5 separate regions of the Homo sapiens genome follow, and all the other regions are linked to region 1. The links are contacts of gene promoters, found by promoter capture Hi-C in blood cells and fetal thymus (Javierre and others, 2016). All regions are on one chromosome and are shown on one strand. The core of a region is centred on a gene start or on the middle of the fragment in contact, and the rest is flanking DNA. Distances in the headings are between cores, read along the strand shown.

Region 1 (2,922 bases), core at 213-2,712:
GAACTCATTTTGAAACATGGACAAGCCAAGGTCAGGAATAAGGAATAAGACCATTCCTCTGACAGACAACACAGTGATTGAGAAGCACCTGGGGAAGTTTGGTGTCGTTTGCTTGGAAGACCTCAGTCATGAAATTGCCGTCCCAGGGAAGCATTTCCAGGAGGTCTCATGGTTGTTACGCCCTTTCTACCTCTCAGTGGCCCGTCATGCTACCAAAAATACAGTGGGCTTCCTCAAGGAGATGGGCACACCTGGCTATCAGGGTGAACGCATCAGTCAGCTCATCCGCCAGCTGAACTAGACCCAGGTGCCAAACTGCAGTAAATTTTTATTAATGAAGTGGAAGCATGGGTAGTAGAAGCATGTGTTTTTGTTTTTTTGGGAATTTTTATCAAGTATCTTCAGAGAAGATTATTTCCAGCTTTATCTTCAAAAACTGGAAAGGAAGGGTCAAAGAAAAGACAGAAGCTCACGCCTGTAATCCCAGCACTTTGGGAGGCCGAGGCGGGTAGATCACTTGAGATCAGGAGTTCGAGACCAGCCTGGCCAACATAGTGAAACGCTGTCTCTACTAAAAATACAAAAATTAGCCGGGCATGGTGGCGTGCACCTGTAGTCCCAGCTACTTGGGAGGCTGAGGCAGGAGAATCACTTGAACCCGGGAGGCAGAGGTTGCAGTGAGCCAAGATCACGCCACTGCACTCCAGCCTGGGCAACAGAGCAAGACTCTCTCTCAAAAAAAAAAAAAAAAAAAAAAAGAAGGAGAAGAAACAGTAGCTTATGTTCATGGCAAGCACCTCTAATCACAGTCCAGTTTCCAAGGAAAAATTCCAGCGTTTTAGTTTAATGTCGGTAAGTGAGTAACTCTAGCATTTGTACAAGGCTCCCTAAGACTCCTGCACCAGTCGGCCAAGCCCAGGGACATAATTGAATTTGGAGATTCTTGGGGCCTTGTTTTGAAAAAGACTTGAAATAGGAAGAAAGGCCCAAAAATAAATGTTCACTTGTCTCTGAAAAAAAAAAATCTGTCTCAAAAAAAAAAAAAAGAGAGACTTAGGGGGGTCTAGGGGGCCTTCCCTGCTATCACCCCAGCACTGCCTAGGTGTTCTACCGGGAGAAGGGGGCCATCGAGCAGGGAGTTCTTACAGTTTTCTGAGACTTTCATGACCGTACCCCTTGAGAGTGTTGTAGGCAATATCCACTCCCCACCTACACACACACAAATTTTGCACCAAATTTTGGGGACTCTCGAAACCCAAGAACCCGGGTGATGGGACCCTAATCCCGACACTCCTTTGCAGCGCAGAGTCTGGGAGCGCAGAGCGCGGGGGCTGCGGGGTGGGCTGAAGGTGGGCAGTACCGGGGGGCGGCGGGCGGAGCGGGGCCGGGAGGGGGCGGTGCCGGAGGGCCAGCGGTGTGGCGCGCCGCCTGCAGGGGGCGCTTGCGGCGGCTCCGGTCGGAGACAATCGCGCTGAGCGGGCGCCGCAGCGGGAGCGGGAGCCGGAGCTGCGAGGCGCGGCGCAGAGCTGGGGCTGCGCGGGGCCGGGCGAGCGGGACCAGGCGGGAGCCATGGACCGCTAGGGCCCGGCCTAGCCCCGCGATGCCGCCGGCGAGTGGCCCCAGCGTCCTCGCGCGGCTGTTGCCGCTGCTGGGGCTGCTGCTCGGCAGCGCCTCCCGGGCTCCCGGCAAGTCGCCGCCGGAGCCCCCCAGCCCGCAGGGTGAGTCTCAGCCGGGAGGGGCCGCGATCGCGGGCCTGCGCCCCCTGATCAGGCTCCCGCCCGTCAGCCCCCTCTTCGCGGCGTTCGTGAATTGAGTGGTATTCTGTTCCCTGGATTCGGGTGGGGGGAGCTAAGCGATCTGGGGTTGGCGCTTCTGGGGGAAAGTGGAGGCGGGGAGAGGGAGGCCGTCCGGGGCGGGGGTCTTGGGGAGACACAATGGGTAGTGCGAGGGTCCCCAGGATCTGCGCCGCCGCCCTCTCCCTATTTGTTTTTCTCCCTCCTGGTCCGCGAGGCGCTGCTGCCTGAGCCATTGTCTACCGAAGACACCCGCCCAGGGGCGGGCTGGGGCGGGCGCCTGCTCCGCAGCCCCCTGCGGGTTGCTCGCTCCCGACCCTGGCGGGGTGGGGGCGCCGGCATCCGCTGCCACCCTAGGCCGGGACCGGAGGCTGGGAGCCTGGAGCTGGGTTTGAAGGGGGGAGGGGAGAAGGGGGAGTGGGTGAGGCTGTGGGCGGGATTGACTGCTCTAATGGGGTTCTTTGCCCTGGAGCCTGACAGCTCCCAGCCAGCCCCCCTGGTTTAGAGTTTGGGGTGCACCAAATAAATGCTTGTGAGCCTATGATGGAGGACGAGCCGCAGTTGTGGGCCTCTAAGAAAAGGGGGTACATTGTGATTCCCAGCTGAGGGAGCATGGCAGGCTTGTGGTCGTGGAGCCATGCTGAGCTAGCTGGCTGTGGGCAGTGCCGGCTGGGAGGGCAGGTGCCTGGGTCCCCCCCCATTCAGCAGGCCTCCTGGCATTCCTGTCCCCTGCCCGCCCCCATATCACCCCCTCCTCATCTCACATCTTCGCAGTGGAGGAGACCCTTCCCAGCGACTCACCGGGCGCAGGTGGGTGTGTGAGGTGGGGGTGGGGCCGGCTCCTGCAGCAGGAAAGGGTGGGGGAGCAAGACCCTGACAACACATCCCACAGGCAGGCCTGGACGCTTGGGGGCCTCCGCCCACTCCAGTCCTGAGTCCACCTCCCGGGTCCTGCTCTCCCTCTCCTGCCTGTGGGCCCCATCCCTGCCTGAAGCAGTATTCACTCCTCACCCCCCACACTAAGGAGCTGGCAGGAAAAGCAGAGTGGGGGGGTCTGGATGAGGGAAGTGGGGTCCGGATGAAGGGAGGGGGTCGGATTTCCTCCTGGACTGAGGCAGGCCTAGAGCCG
Region 2 (2,922 bases), core at 174-2,673, 310 kb before region 1:
ACCTTGATTTTTGTCACTGAAGGAGTCAGGTTATATCCACGGTCCCCTGAAGGGTACTTGTTTCAATTTGTTAGTAGTCAGTTCTTTCTTCTGGGACTCTGCTATGTATGTCACAGTTAAGTATACTCTCAAACTAATGCTTAAACAGAAAATAGAGGATCAGCTCATTAGGCTTTGAGTTTAGTTATCCACTTGACTCAGGTGCTAATAAATCCTTTACGTCTAAAATGTTCAGTATTGCAAAGGGCATATTTTTTTTGTTTGTTTTTTGAAACGGATCACTCTGTCACCCAGGCTGGAGTGCAGTGGCGCCATGTTGGCTCACTGCAACCTCCACCTTGCGGGTTCAAGTGATTCTCCTGCCTCCCCCTCCCAAGTAGCTGAGACTACAGGCGAGTGCCACCACACCCAGCTAATTTTTTGTATTTTTAGTAGAGATGGGGTTTCACCGTGTTAGCCAGGATGGTCTCGATCTCCTGACCTCGTGATCCACCCGCCTCAGCCTCCCAAAGTGCTGGGATTACAGGCGTGATCCACCGGCACCCAGCTGCAAAGGGCAAATTTTAAACAACCATATCTTCTATGGTAAGATTGAGTTTTAGGCCAGATTTTGGATTTCAGTCATAAATTCTCAACCCTCTAAAACTTTATAGTAGCAGATTATTCAAGTGAGAAGGACACTGATAACAACTCAAGGTAATTTTGCTTTTTCCATTAAAAAGAATGAGTACACCAAGTTCTTTCAGATTAGAAATGGCGGGAGCATCAGTTTTATCAGTTTCACTGCAAATTTTGTAAAAGTTTTATAATGTTTTCATAGGTTGTAATTCAGAAGTACAATGTTTTATAGGTTGTAATTCAGAAATACAAGTACATAAGAACCATCTGTTAGAGGATATGCCACTGAAAGGGACAACCGACTAATTTAAAAATTATCTATTGGGTGATATGATTAACAATATTTCAAAGAATTTTTTTAAGTGTTTGGTTCTTATTAACGGACTGGTATTTCATTTCTGACCAGTATCATGTAAAAGCTTCCCTAAAATTTTTATTCTGGTTTACACGGATTAGCATAAAGATAGAGCAAAAATTTCATCTTTGAAGGAGATCTGGTTAGATCCATGGATATCTGAATGGCATTGATTTATAAACCAACATTATTACTTGTGCGTTAATAATGAAATCTAAAACTTAGTATAAGTTCTTAAATGAAATTCATTTGACTTTCTGATATGAGTGACTCTTAAGGTTAGAAACATATGAATTTAGAAAAATGAAACCAAATGTTTTCAACAAAGTAATTTATTTTTTTCCTGAGACTAAATTCAGTACAGTATTTGTTTTTATAACATCCAACATGTCTTATGTTAAACTTAACCACTTTCTATGCAGTGACTGTGGTGAGATGATCTATTTTATTTGACTACCCTCAATGTAATTCATTTGGGTAGTTCTAAGGCATATCAGTGATCAAAATGTTTCTCCCTACAGTTACTCTTGCATTCTCAATCAGTTTCTTCTGCACATCATCTAAAGAAAATTTATGTGGTATGATTACACTCTTTTTTTTTTTAATACCAGAATTTCTAAAACTAAGAAAAACACTAACATTTAAAACATCAGTGTTTCTAGTCAAGGATATTTCAATTAAATTTCATCAGTACATTATAGTTTAACTCATGCTAGAAATGTTAAAACCCAAGATCTTCTGAGTCACATAATACCAACATTTCATATTAACGAATAAATTACTCAAGTTCTATACAAAGATACTAAGTGATGAGAAACAGAAAAAGTTAAGCTTTCAATAGTTTTAAAAAAATACAGAAGCAAACTAATGAACACAACTACGCAAAATATAGGCTAACCAATTGCAAGCTAAACTAGTTAGAGATTAACCTTTAAAAAATACATTTTAGAACTTAGAAGCAAACTAATGAACACAACTACACAAAATATACACTAACCAATTGCAAGCTAAACTAGTTAGAGATTAACCTTTAAAAAAATACATTTTAGAACTTCGTGACACCCTCATAAAAGGCAGCAAACTAAGGGTATTAAAACAGTAGTCATTATTTCAGTTACTGTGCATCAAGTCTAAAAGATCCAGATAAAGGGAATGTTTTGTGATTCAATTTAAATAACTTTAAAATTGGAAACATTTAACAATTGATAATATAATTAAAATTTAAAGAATATACACAAATGATCTGAATAGGTTTTATATTCAGTAACTTGCATGGTTTTTACACTGACACTTTTATCATTAATTTAGGAGAATCAGATGCATTTCCCTCCATATACCTAGGCATTAAGATTCCAAATTTATAAATATGGTAGTATAGTATTTTAAATATTAAGTTTGTACATGAATATTGGGTTTATCCGTATTTTCCTTTGTTTCCCAGGTATTATCCAGTTTTGTAAGGAAAACACTTTGATATCACAATCAAAACTTGTCTTGGTTACTAGGCTGTAGCCGTAATTGGGTTACAGTCACTTAGATTCATTATTTGGAATTATACTTAACTAAGACAAACCTAAATGAAATTTATCTCCTAGAAGAATTTCACATTTGCATTTACCTGCATGGCAGAATGAGTTTAAGCACATTTTAGCTGTTAGGAAATATTTAATTTACTTAAACTTGTTATCTGACTACTCAGAACTCTGAGTAGTCAACTGTACCTTTGCGTTTACTTAAAACTATATCGGATTCACTTCAAATAGAAGATTTTTAAATAGAAGTTAGACTTCATTAAGGTACTGGTATTAACTTTAAATCTGAAAGAAAACATACTGAAAGTTTGACAAGTTCATTAAAACATTTTTAGCATGTCTTGGTATATTTATCAGCTTTTTATTCTTCTTTCTGCTGGCATTTCCTTAATGTTTGTTTGTTTCACCTCTCTGGTT
Region 3 (2,922 bases), core at 423-2,922, 290 kb after region 1:
CTGCAGCCCTTGGATGAGGCAGTCTTGCAGCAAAAGCCCAACATCAACGCAGTGGCCACGCTAGAGAAAGTCATCGAGATCCAGAGTGCGTGAGGACACGTAGAGGGGCTCAGGCTGCCAAGGGGGCACGGAGCTTGTGGGAGCACCAGGACTGGGACTGTTCATGTGGGTGTCCTCTGCCCTCCCTGACCCCTTGCCTGTCTCTCGTCCACAGGCAAACACTGGAGCTGTGTGCAGAAGTTCGCCGCTGGTCTGGGCCGGTCCCTGCGAGAGGCCCAAGCAGGTGAGACCGAGGAGGCCGAGACTGTGAGCGCCATGGCCTTGCTGTCGGTGGGGGCCGAGCAGGCCCAGGCTGCGGCAGCCCGGGAACACAGCCCCAGGTAAGCAGCAACCCGCACCACCTCTCTGCCCTCACCCCTGCTGGTGCGCCCCACTCAATACCCTCCCCTGTGCTTGCCCCACAGGCCGGCAGAGGAGCCCATGGAGCAGGAGCCTGCCCTGTGACGCCCCGGCCCCCATCCCTCTGGGCTTCACCATTGTGATTTTGTTTATTTTTTCTATTAAAAACAAAAAGTCACACATTCAACAAGGTGTGCCGTGTGGGTCTCTCAGCCTTGCCCCTCCTGCTCCTCTACGCTGCCTCAGGCCCCCAGCCCTGTGGCTTCCACCTCAGCTCTAGAAGCCTGCTCCCTCTGCAGGGGGTGGTGGTGTCTTCCCAGCCCTGTCCCATGTGTCCCTCCCCCCATTTTCCTGCATTCTGTCTGTCCTTTTCCTCCTTGGAGCCTGGGCCAGCTCAAGGTGGGCACGGGGGCCCAGACAGTACTCTCCAGTTCTGGGGCCCCCCGAGTGAGGAGGGAACGGGAAGTCGGTGCCTTGGTTTCAGCTGATTTGGGGGGAAATGCCTTAATTTCACTCTCCTCCCTTCTCCAGCCTCAGGGGAGGATCTGGAGGATCCACTACTGTCTTTAAGATGCAGAGTGGAGGGGAGGTGGGCACCCACCCTGCGATTCTCCACCCTTTCCCCTTCTTTCGTCCTCACCATCTCTGCAGACCCCTCTCCTCCTCCTTCCTCTTGGTCTCAGCACTGATGGGAGGCTGGTGCCCAAGCTGTGGCCTGCAGTCTGTGAGGAGGGCTGTCTTGCCTCACACTCCTCACAGCCTACTTCCCCTTCCCCGGGGCTGAGAGGGTGAAAGTGTGTGGGGAAGGAGAGGACTGGTTTCCTGGGTTCTCAGGGGCCAGGAGGAGTAACAGAACCAGGTCTGCTCCCCACCTTACTCGGATGGCCTCCCTGCCCCTCTGCTGGCACAGCCTGGGCAAGGGGAGAAGGTGGTCCCTGCAGAGGGGCTCCAGGCTGGTGAGAGCCCCCCTGCTGTCAGGACCAGATTTTCCCAGCCATCCAGCATGCTGCGGGGAGAAGGGGCAGAGGCTCACCTCCCTCCTGGGGCCTTTTGTTTTGGATCCTGGGGATGGTGAGAATGGAGGTTCTAGAAGGGGTAAGGCCAGAACCCAGGGATCCAGGAGTCGGCTCTCAGCTGGAGCTTCCATACCTTCTGGGCTCCCTTTGCTGACCACCAGCCCAAGGGAGCTAAGACCAGGAGGGGGCTGGGCGCTGTCCCTTCTCTTTCCCAGGAGCCCTGCCAGGGGCTGTGGGCCTACAAGGCTTCCAGGGGATGCCATCCAGCCTGTAGGAAACCAAAGATGGGAAGTGGCTCCTAGGGGGCTGACTCTTCCTTCCTCCTCCTCCCCAGTACCACATATACTTTCTCTCCTTCTATCTCCAGGGCCCCACCAATCTGTTTACATATTTATTATCCTATGGGGGCCTGAGCAGGATTGAGGGAGCCAGGGGAGGGGCAGGAGTCCCAGCACCATCGGTTCATAGTGTGCTTGTGTGTTTGTTTTAGATCCTCCTGGGGGATGGGGATGGGGCCAGGCTCAGTGTACTAGGCCTCTCTGTGCTGAGCCCCAGGCTCCCGGCCCCTTACCCACTCTCTCCCTGTGGCTGGTCTGGTTCTCATGTAAACCCACTCCTTGCTTTGTCTCCCTGGATATGGATTTCAGTTAAGTATTTTGTAACCCGTTACACTGTGTGTCCTTGTGTAAATAAACTTGTTTCTGGCAGTGCCTTCTGGGGCCAATGTCTCTATTCTCTGGGCTCCCAAATGGAGTAGAGGTTCTCATCCTCCTTCCTAGCCAAACACACTACTCTTTTCTCCAGCCCCTGGACTAGAAGCCGATTTAGGAAACTGGAGGTTGGGGCGCAAGATCTGTCCTGTAAGTGAAAAGACAGGGTTATACCGAATATAGTCACAGCATCTCATGGGACCTCTCATGTGGCCTAGGCAGTGATGAGGCAGGGGACCCAGGGCTGAGAGGTCTCACCTGAGTTTACAGCCCTCTCCTTTCCTGCCTCTCTGCCCCTGGAAACAGGGCTGGAGATGGCACAGAGACTACTGGAGCAGCCTGGCAAAGGTTCCACTTGTGCACACACAGGCAAGGCCCATGGAGATGTGCGCATAGGCAAGAAAGGAATCTCAAAGTATTCAAGGGCTTTATTGGGGCCGCCCTGGCTGCCCCTCACAGTGTTGCAAGAACCCGCTGGTCTTGCTGTTGCCTTTGCTCTTTGGGGGCTTGAGAGGAAAGGCAGAGGGAGGACCAACTTATCTGGGAGAGAGAAGGCCCATCTTTGGGGCTAAGACCAGGTGGTGCGGAAGCAGATTTAGGGAGGGGAGGGCCTACTTAGGGGCTGGAAGGGGATGGGGCTGCCTCCTGGAGTGTGGTGGTCACAGAGTGTTGGCTTTGTGGGAGGGAAAGGAAAGGGAGGCACACAAGAAGTCAGGAAGAGTGGATGGGCGGTGCTTCCTGGGCACTGAACATGTGCACTGCCCAGGGCACGAGGGCCAGGACTAGGCATGGCCAGA
Region 4 (2,922 bases), core at 303-2,802, 270 kb before region 1:
CAGGGATTACCATGCCTGGCCTCCCTGCTGATTTTAACGGTCTTCGTTAGCATATACTAAATCCCCATATAAAAAAAAAATAAAAAGAAACAAACAAAAAAATCCCCATATATATTTAAATCTGCCTCTGGACTCCATTCTTTCCTTTCCTATTTCTGTACCAATCTCATATTGCTTTAATTTGCATAGGTTAAAAAAATTTCTAATATCTGGTAGGGGTACTCCTTTAAAAATTGTTTGTTTGTTTGAGACAGGCTCTCACTCTGTCACCCAAGCTGGAGTGCAGTGGCGTGATTTCGGCTCACCGCAACCTCCATCTCCCAGGTTCAAGCGATTCTTCTGCCTCAGCCTCCCGAGTAACGGGGATTACAGACGCACGTCACCACGCCCAGCTAACTTTTCTATTTTTTGGTAGAGACAGTGTTTCGCCATGTTGGCCAGGCTGGTCTCGAACTCCTGACCTCAAGTGATCTGCCCACTTTGGCCTCCCAAAGGGCTGGGATTACAGGCGTAAGCCACTGTGCCAAGCCAAATAGCTTTTTTAAAATTTTATTTTTACTTCTTTTTTTTTGAGACCAAGTCTCTTTCTGTCGCCTAGGCAGGAGTGTAGTGGCGCCATCTCAGCTCACTGCAACCTGTGCCTCCTGGGTTCAAGCTATTCTCCTGTCTCAGCCTTCAAAGTAGCTGGGACTACAGGCATGCGCCACCACACCCAACTAATTTCTATATTTTTAGTAGAGACAGGGTTTCGCCATGTTGGCCAGGCTGGTCTCAAATTCTTGGCCTCATGTGATCCGCCCACCTCAGCCTCCCAAAGTGATGGGATTACAGGTGTGAGCCACCACACCTGGCCTATTTCTAAATTTCTATGAATTTTTAAATTGAGGTGAAATTGTAGCATAAAGTTAACCATTTTAAAGTGAACAATTCAGTGATATTTAGCACATTCACAATGTCATGTAACCATCACCTCCATCTAGTTCCAAAACATTTCATCGCCCCAAAACAAAACTCTATATTCATTAGGCAGTTTTTCCCATTTCACCCTCTCCACACATTTTTAACACATAAAAAATAAACTTGTTATAAAATCCCAAGCTTCAGGTTTACCAGGTATTAAGGAAGCTTAAAAATCAAGTCCCAGTTCAGAATCATACAGGTTTTCCAGATTTAGATCGTCCTCCGGCAGGGTGTCTGCATCCTCCAAGCATGATTCTACATCCCCAGTAGCCCAAGACTCAATTTGGATTCTGAAAATTTGCTGCTAAATTGCTTTGTGATTCTTCTCAAGTGTCTATGACTTCTGTTGTCTCTTGAACAACCTTGTTTTTGTTGTTGTTAATGTTTTTTGTTTGTTTTTGAGACAGGGTATCTCTCTGTCACCCAGGCTGGAGTGCAATGGTGCAATCGAGGCTCACTGCAGCCTCCACCTCCCGGGCTCAATCAATCCTCCTGCCTTAACCTCCCAAGCAGCTGGGACTACAGGTGCATGCCACCATGCCTAGCTAATTTTTTATTTTTATTTTTAGTAGAGATGAGGTCTCACTATGTTGCCCAGGCTGGTCTCAAACTCCTGGACTCAAGCAATCCTTCTGCCTCAGCCTCCCAAAGTGCTGGGATTACAGGTGTGAGACACTGTGTCTAGCCTTGAACAATCTTGCAAACCCTCTACTTTTTTTTCTTTTCCCCTGCCCACCCATCCATAGCATCTGGCACTGGCTTTGTACCATCACATGCCCATCAAATTATTGTTGATTGATTTCTTTCAAAATTTCCATATTAGACCCTCATCAGCGTGTCAGGAGACTGTCTGGGGCATGATTTAAGTGGGAGTTGAATTAAGAAATTTCAACACACTGTATCTTACTTTCAGATAATATGACACTACTGGTTGCCATTTATTTAAGTGCCTATTAATTGTCATACCCTACAAATGGTTTTATTTAATTCTTATAACAATCTCATGCAGCGGAAGCTTACTGATGATATTCACAGAGGTTAAGTGACTTGCCTAAAGTCCCTGGGCTTAATTGTCAGAGCCAAGCTTTGAACCCAGTTTTGTCTGACTACACAGCACTTTCTAACATGCTATATTGCCTCCATATACTTTCTCCATCAAAGCCCACCCATCATGTTATCCAGGTTTGTTTTTACTTCATTGTCATAGTCATGTTTGCCTAGAGGGAGCATCCAAGCCCTCCTGCTGAGGTATATGATGGAGATACTCAAGAAGCACCACAGAATCATTGCTTCTCTCACAGGTGACCTTACTTCCTGCCCTGGCCAAGCTATCAAGGATCAAGTTAATTCCTCGCTTTACTATGTTCTAGATAGTAAACCACGTTGGGCTGGCACGGTGGCTCATGCCTGTAATCCCAGCACTTTGAGAGGCCACGTAGGGAGCATCCCTTGAGTCCAGGAGTTCAAGACCAGCTTGGGCAACATAGGGAGACCCTGTCTCTACAAAAAATAACAAAAAATTAGCTGGGCGTTAGGCATGCATCTGTGGTCCTAGCTACTCGAGAGGCTGAGGTGGGAGGATCACTTAAGCCCAGTTACTTGAGCCAGGGAAGTCGAGGCTGCAGTGAGCTGGGATTGCCCCACTGCAGTCTGGCCTAGGCAACAGAGGAGACCCCGTCACCAAAAAAAAAAAAAAAAAAAAAAAAAAGTGTGCCGGATGGAGTCCCATACTGTCTGGCCCACGTGTTATAACTGTCACCTTAGCTAGAGCTGGAGCAAGAATATGGAATTGAATCCAGGCTCAGCCTCCACTGTAAGGATGGGAGACATTATTTTCCTAAGGAAGAGAATCCCAGTGAGTGCCTGGGAGCTCCATCTCTTCCCAATCTGCCCATACTTGGCCTCTTCCTATTTCCTGTCTTCTAAAAATGTATGAAATTCAGGGATGTTAGAGAGTGCTAT
Region 5 (2,922 bases), core at 300-2,799, 270 kb after region 1:
TTTGCATGGGAACGAGGCTGCATGGCAGAGCCCTCTGCCTGCCCTGCCACCTGCATACCAATAGGGCTGTGGTTCCCGCTGCAGCTCCGGGCCTAACATCTCTGCTGCTGCAGTGGCAGTGACAGGCTGGTGGGAGATTCCCCTTGCCTGAGCCCATGTGCTCTCTGCAGGGCTCCTGCAAGGGAAGCCAGTACTGCTGGCGACAGTTCCAGCCCTAGGCAGGGTTATCTGCTGGGAGCCAGGAGTGCTTGGACCTCTGCCCTTCCCTGGGCAGGCAGGCTGGAATCTGGCTCCTACAACCCCGGCATTGCCGGGAGCAGCAGGTTGACGGCTGTCCATTGCTTGGCTGAGTGATCAGAGTGCCACGGGCCAAGCCAAGCTTGACTAAGAACAGATAACCCTCCGGCCAGCTCAGGGCCTTGCTGAGCACTTCACGGGCTGGGGAGACCTGAGCTGGCTGCCATTTCCTTGCCACCATCGTGGGCTGTGGCTAGTTACCTCCAGGAAGGCCTTCTGCAGTTTCCAAGGACCCTTTCTCCTGGTGCTGGGGCAGGACATGGGTTGGGAATGAAGATGAGTATGTGTAACCCCACCCTCTGGCCACATCTGGCCACTTCTGCACATGTGGCTCTGGCCTTGTGGCCACAGAGTCGTCAGTATGGCTGGCGGGAAAACCACAGAGGAATGTTCCCAACCATGCCTGGGGGAGAAGAGGCTGGTGGGGACTGCTACATCATGCTGAGCTTTTACCTTCTCCCACCCCACCCTGCCTGCAGGGGGTTCCAGAGGCCATACTCCAGGCATGTGGGTGGCATGGCCTTGGCCTCGGCCTCCAGCAGGCCTTGCTCCTGCCTTGGTGACACCCATTCAGTGCTAGGTTCTCTGGAGAGATCCAGACCCATCTAAACAGGTGTGGGGGCCTCTCTTAGCCCACCCTTTGCCACCTCCTACCTCCCACCTCCCTCTCTTCTCTTTAAAAATTGTTCGGCTGGGTGTGGTCACTCATGCCTGTAATCCCAGCACTTTGGGAGGCCGAGGCGGGTGGATCACCTGAGGTCAGGAGTTCGAGACCAGCCTGACCTACATGGTGAAACCCCGTTTCTACTAAAAATACAAAAATTAGCTAGGCCTGGTGGTGGGCGCCTGTAATCCCAGCTGCTTGGGAGGCTGAGGCAGGAGAATTGCTTGAACCCAGGAGGCGGAGGTTGCAGTGAGACTCCATCTAAAAAAAAGGCCAGGGGCAGTGGCTCATGCCTGTAATCCCAGCCCTTTGGGAGGCCGAGGCGAGCGGATCACCTGAGGTCAAGAGTTTGAGACCAGCCTGGCCAACATGGTGAAACCTTGTGTCTACTAAAAATACAAAAAAATTAGCTGAGCGTGGTGGCGGGTGCCTGTAATCCCAGCTACTTGCGGGGCTGAGGCAGGAAAACTGCTTGAACCCAGGAGGCAGAGGTTGCAGTGAGCCGAGATTGTGCCACTGCACTCCAGCCTGGATGACAAGAGCAAAACTCCATCTCCAAAAAAAAAAAAAACAAAAAAAAACCAAAACTTGTTTTTTGTTTTTTTTTTCCCTCTCTCGCCTCTTAATGCTGGGGGGTGGTCTGGAGAGAGGCCAGCTCATGAAGGCAGAAGATACTGGTAGCCAGAAGGATTTCGGGGTCCTTTTTTCTCAGGCCTGGGCTGGAGTGGGCCACTTTGCCACAGGAGTCTTCCCAGCCCCTCGTGACCTCCCTGGGCTGTAGCGAGGAGAGTGAGGGCTTTCTTTGGAGAAAGAAGTAGAAGAGAAACAGGAATGGGTTGGCCTGCCTCTCTCACTTCCGCCTTCCCAGGCAGTGGTATCCTGCCTTCCCCTTCCTGGCTGGAGACTTTGTGGGGCTTGGGCTGGGCTTGGGGCTCCCTGCTGGTGTGGTGTTTGCCCAGTTGTCCTGGCAACCACAGGGCAGTGGTGAGGAGTGACATGCAGTGACCTGAGAACTGTGTGTAGGTACAAAGAAGTGGAGACCTAGCCCTCCCATAAGCCCATTGGAACTTCGTGCACTCCCTGAGCCACTCGGCCCATTGTCCATGTGGGGACTGGACCCAAGGTCTTGGAACCCAGCAGGCCCTCCACTGCCTTCCCCTCCCCAGCAGCCTTCCTCTCCCCAGCCGGTTCTCCGTAAGACCAGAGTTCTGAGATCTCTGCCGAAGCTCCTGCCCTCCCCCTGCTGTTACCCTTCTTCCTGTCTGATTCCCTTTCCTTTCCTGTCTCCTCCTCCCACCTCCTCCCTGCTGCCTGCCCGCCCATCCTCTTATTCCCCCTCCCCCCAGGCACAGCTGCTGTTTGGCTCACTCTATATATAGCGGCATTTTCAGGGTAATTACAATAAAACTGTTGAAAGGAGATAATCCAGCAAAGGAAGCGAGTCTTGACTCCCAGCCCCCTCCTGTCCCTGGCTTGGTGCAGCCCTGCACCCCCTTTCCCCGAGGCCTCCTGTTCCCACCCCACCCCCATTCCCACAGCCTCTCCCTCCTGCCCAGTCTGCCCCAGATAGGGATGAGGCCCCAGAAGGGGACAGAGGGTAGAGATATCCAGAAGGTCTCCACCAGCCTCTCCTGGGGTTACCAAGGGCACTGTCAGTCCTAGAACCAACCTCTGTGCCTCAGTTTCTCTTCTAGTATGAGGCTTTGCATGGGGCACGGTGTTGAGAAATGGGAGCGGGCACAGTGGTTAAAAGCTTAGGATTTGGACTCATATTCTAGTTATTGGATCACCTAGCTGTGTCTGGTTGCTACTTAAACTTCTCTAAACCTCAGTTTCCTCATCAGTAAAATGGGGTAATAATAGCATCTAAGTCATAGGGTAACTGTGATATTTAAATGAGTCATTGTAAAATGCCCAGAGATGTTGACTATCAATGATAATATTATGTGTTGAAGGCTGGG

The links. Contacts are between HindIII fragments. The CHiCAGO score rates a contact against its expected background, and 5 or more counts as called.
Region 2: a fragment that was not itself captured here is called in contact with the fragment with the promoter of FAM171A2 in region 1 in 1 of 17 cell types (endothelial precursors); the score reaches 5.6 in endothelial precursors.
Region 3: a contact is called between a fragment that was not itself captured here and the fragment with the promoter of FAM171A2 in region 1, in 1 of 17 cell types (neutrophils). The highest score is 5.6, in neutrophils.
Region 4: a fragment that was not itself captured here is called in contact with the fragment with the promoter of FAM171A2 in region 1 in 1 of 17 cell types (endothelial precursors); the score reaches 5.7 in endothelial precursors.
Region 5: a fragment that was not itself captured here is called in contact with the fragment with the promoter of FAM171A2 in region 1 in 1 of 17 cell types (neutrophils); the score reaches 7.0 in neutrophils.

The regions. Positions count from the first base shown.
Region 1 is chr17:44,362,393-44,365,314 of GRCh38, reverse strand. FAM171A2 (family with sequence similarity 171 member A2) reads left to right here and starts at 1,462. Exons shown (of 8, transcript NM_198475.3): 1 at 1,462-1,718. The coding sequence starts at 1,601. It also overlaps the pseudogene RPL7L1P5. RefSeq lists a silencer at 1,371-1,750. The HindIII fragment of the contact is 8,364 bases long and covers 1-2,922 here.
Region 2 is chr17:44,674,167-44,677,088 of GRCh38, reverse strand. It overlaps MEIOC (meiosis specific with coiled-coil domain), which reads right to left. Exons shown (of 8, transcript NM_001145080.3): 8 at 1,288-2,922. The coding sequence ends at 2,893. Among named protein-coding and RNA genes, the nearest start is that of CCDC43, 14 kb to the left of the region's middle. The HindIII fragment of the contact is 767 bases long and covers 1,040-1,806 here.
Region 3 is chr17:44,075,958-44,078,879 of GRCh38, reverse strand. G6PC3 (glucose-6-phosphatase catalytic subunit 3) reads right to left here. Exons shown (of 6, transcript NM_138387.4): 6 at 2,536-2,922. The coding sequence ends at 2,837. HDAC5 (histone deacetylase 5) reads left to right here. Exons shown (of 27, transcript NM_005474.5): 25 at 1-85; 26 at 215-380; 27 at 465-2,127. The coding sequence ends at 504. Among named protein-coding and RNA genes, the nearest start is that of G6PC3, 6.7 kb to the right of the region's middle. RefSeq lists enhancers at 1,315-1,854, 2,872-2,922. The HindIII fragment of the contact is 3,690 bases long and covers 1-2,922 here.
Region 4 is chr17:44,631,201-44,634,122 of GRCh38, reverse strand. No RefSeq gene overlaps it. Among named protein-coding and RNA genes, the nearest start is that of LINC01180, 18 kb to the left of the region's middle. The HindIII fragment of the contact is 850 bases long and covers 1,128-1,977 here.
Region 5 is chr17:44,095,086-44,098,007 of GRCh38, reverse strand. All of the region lies in intron 3 of HDAC5 (histone deacetylase 5), which reads left to right. Among named protein-coding and RNA genes, the nearest start is that of G6PC3, 26 kb to the right of the region's middle. RefSeq lists an enhancer at 1,888-2,648. The HindIII fragment of the contact is 2,335 bases long and covers 382-2,716 here.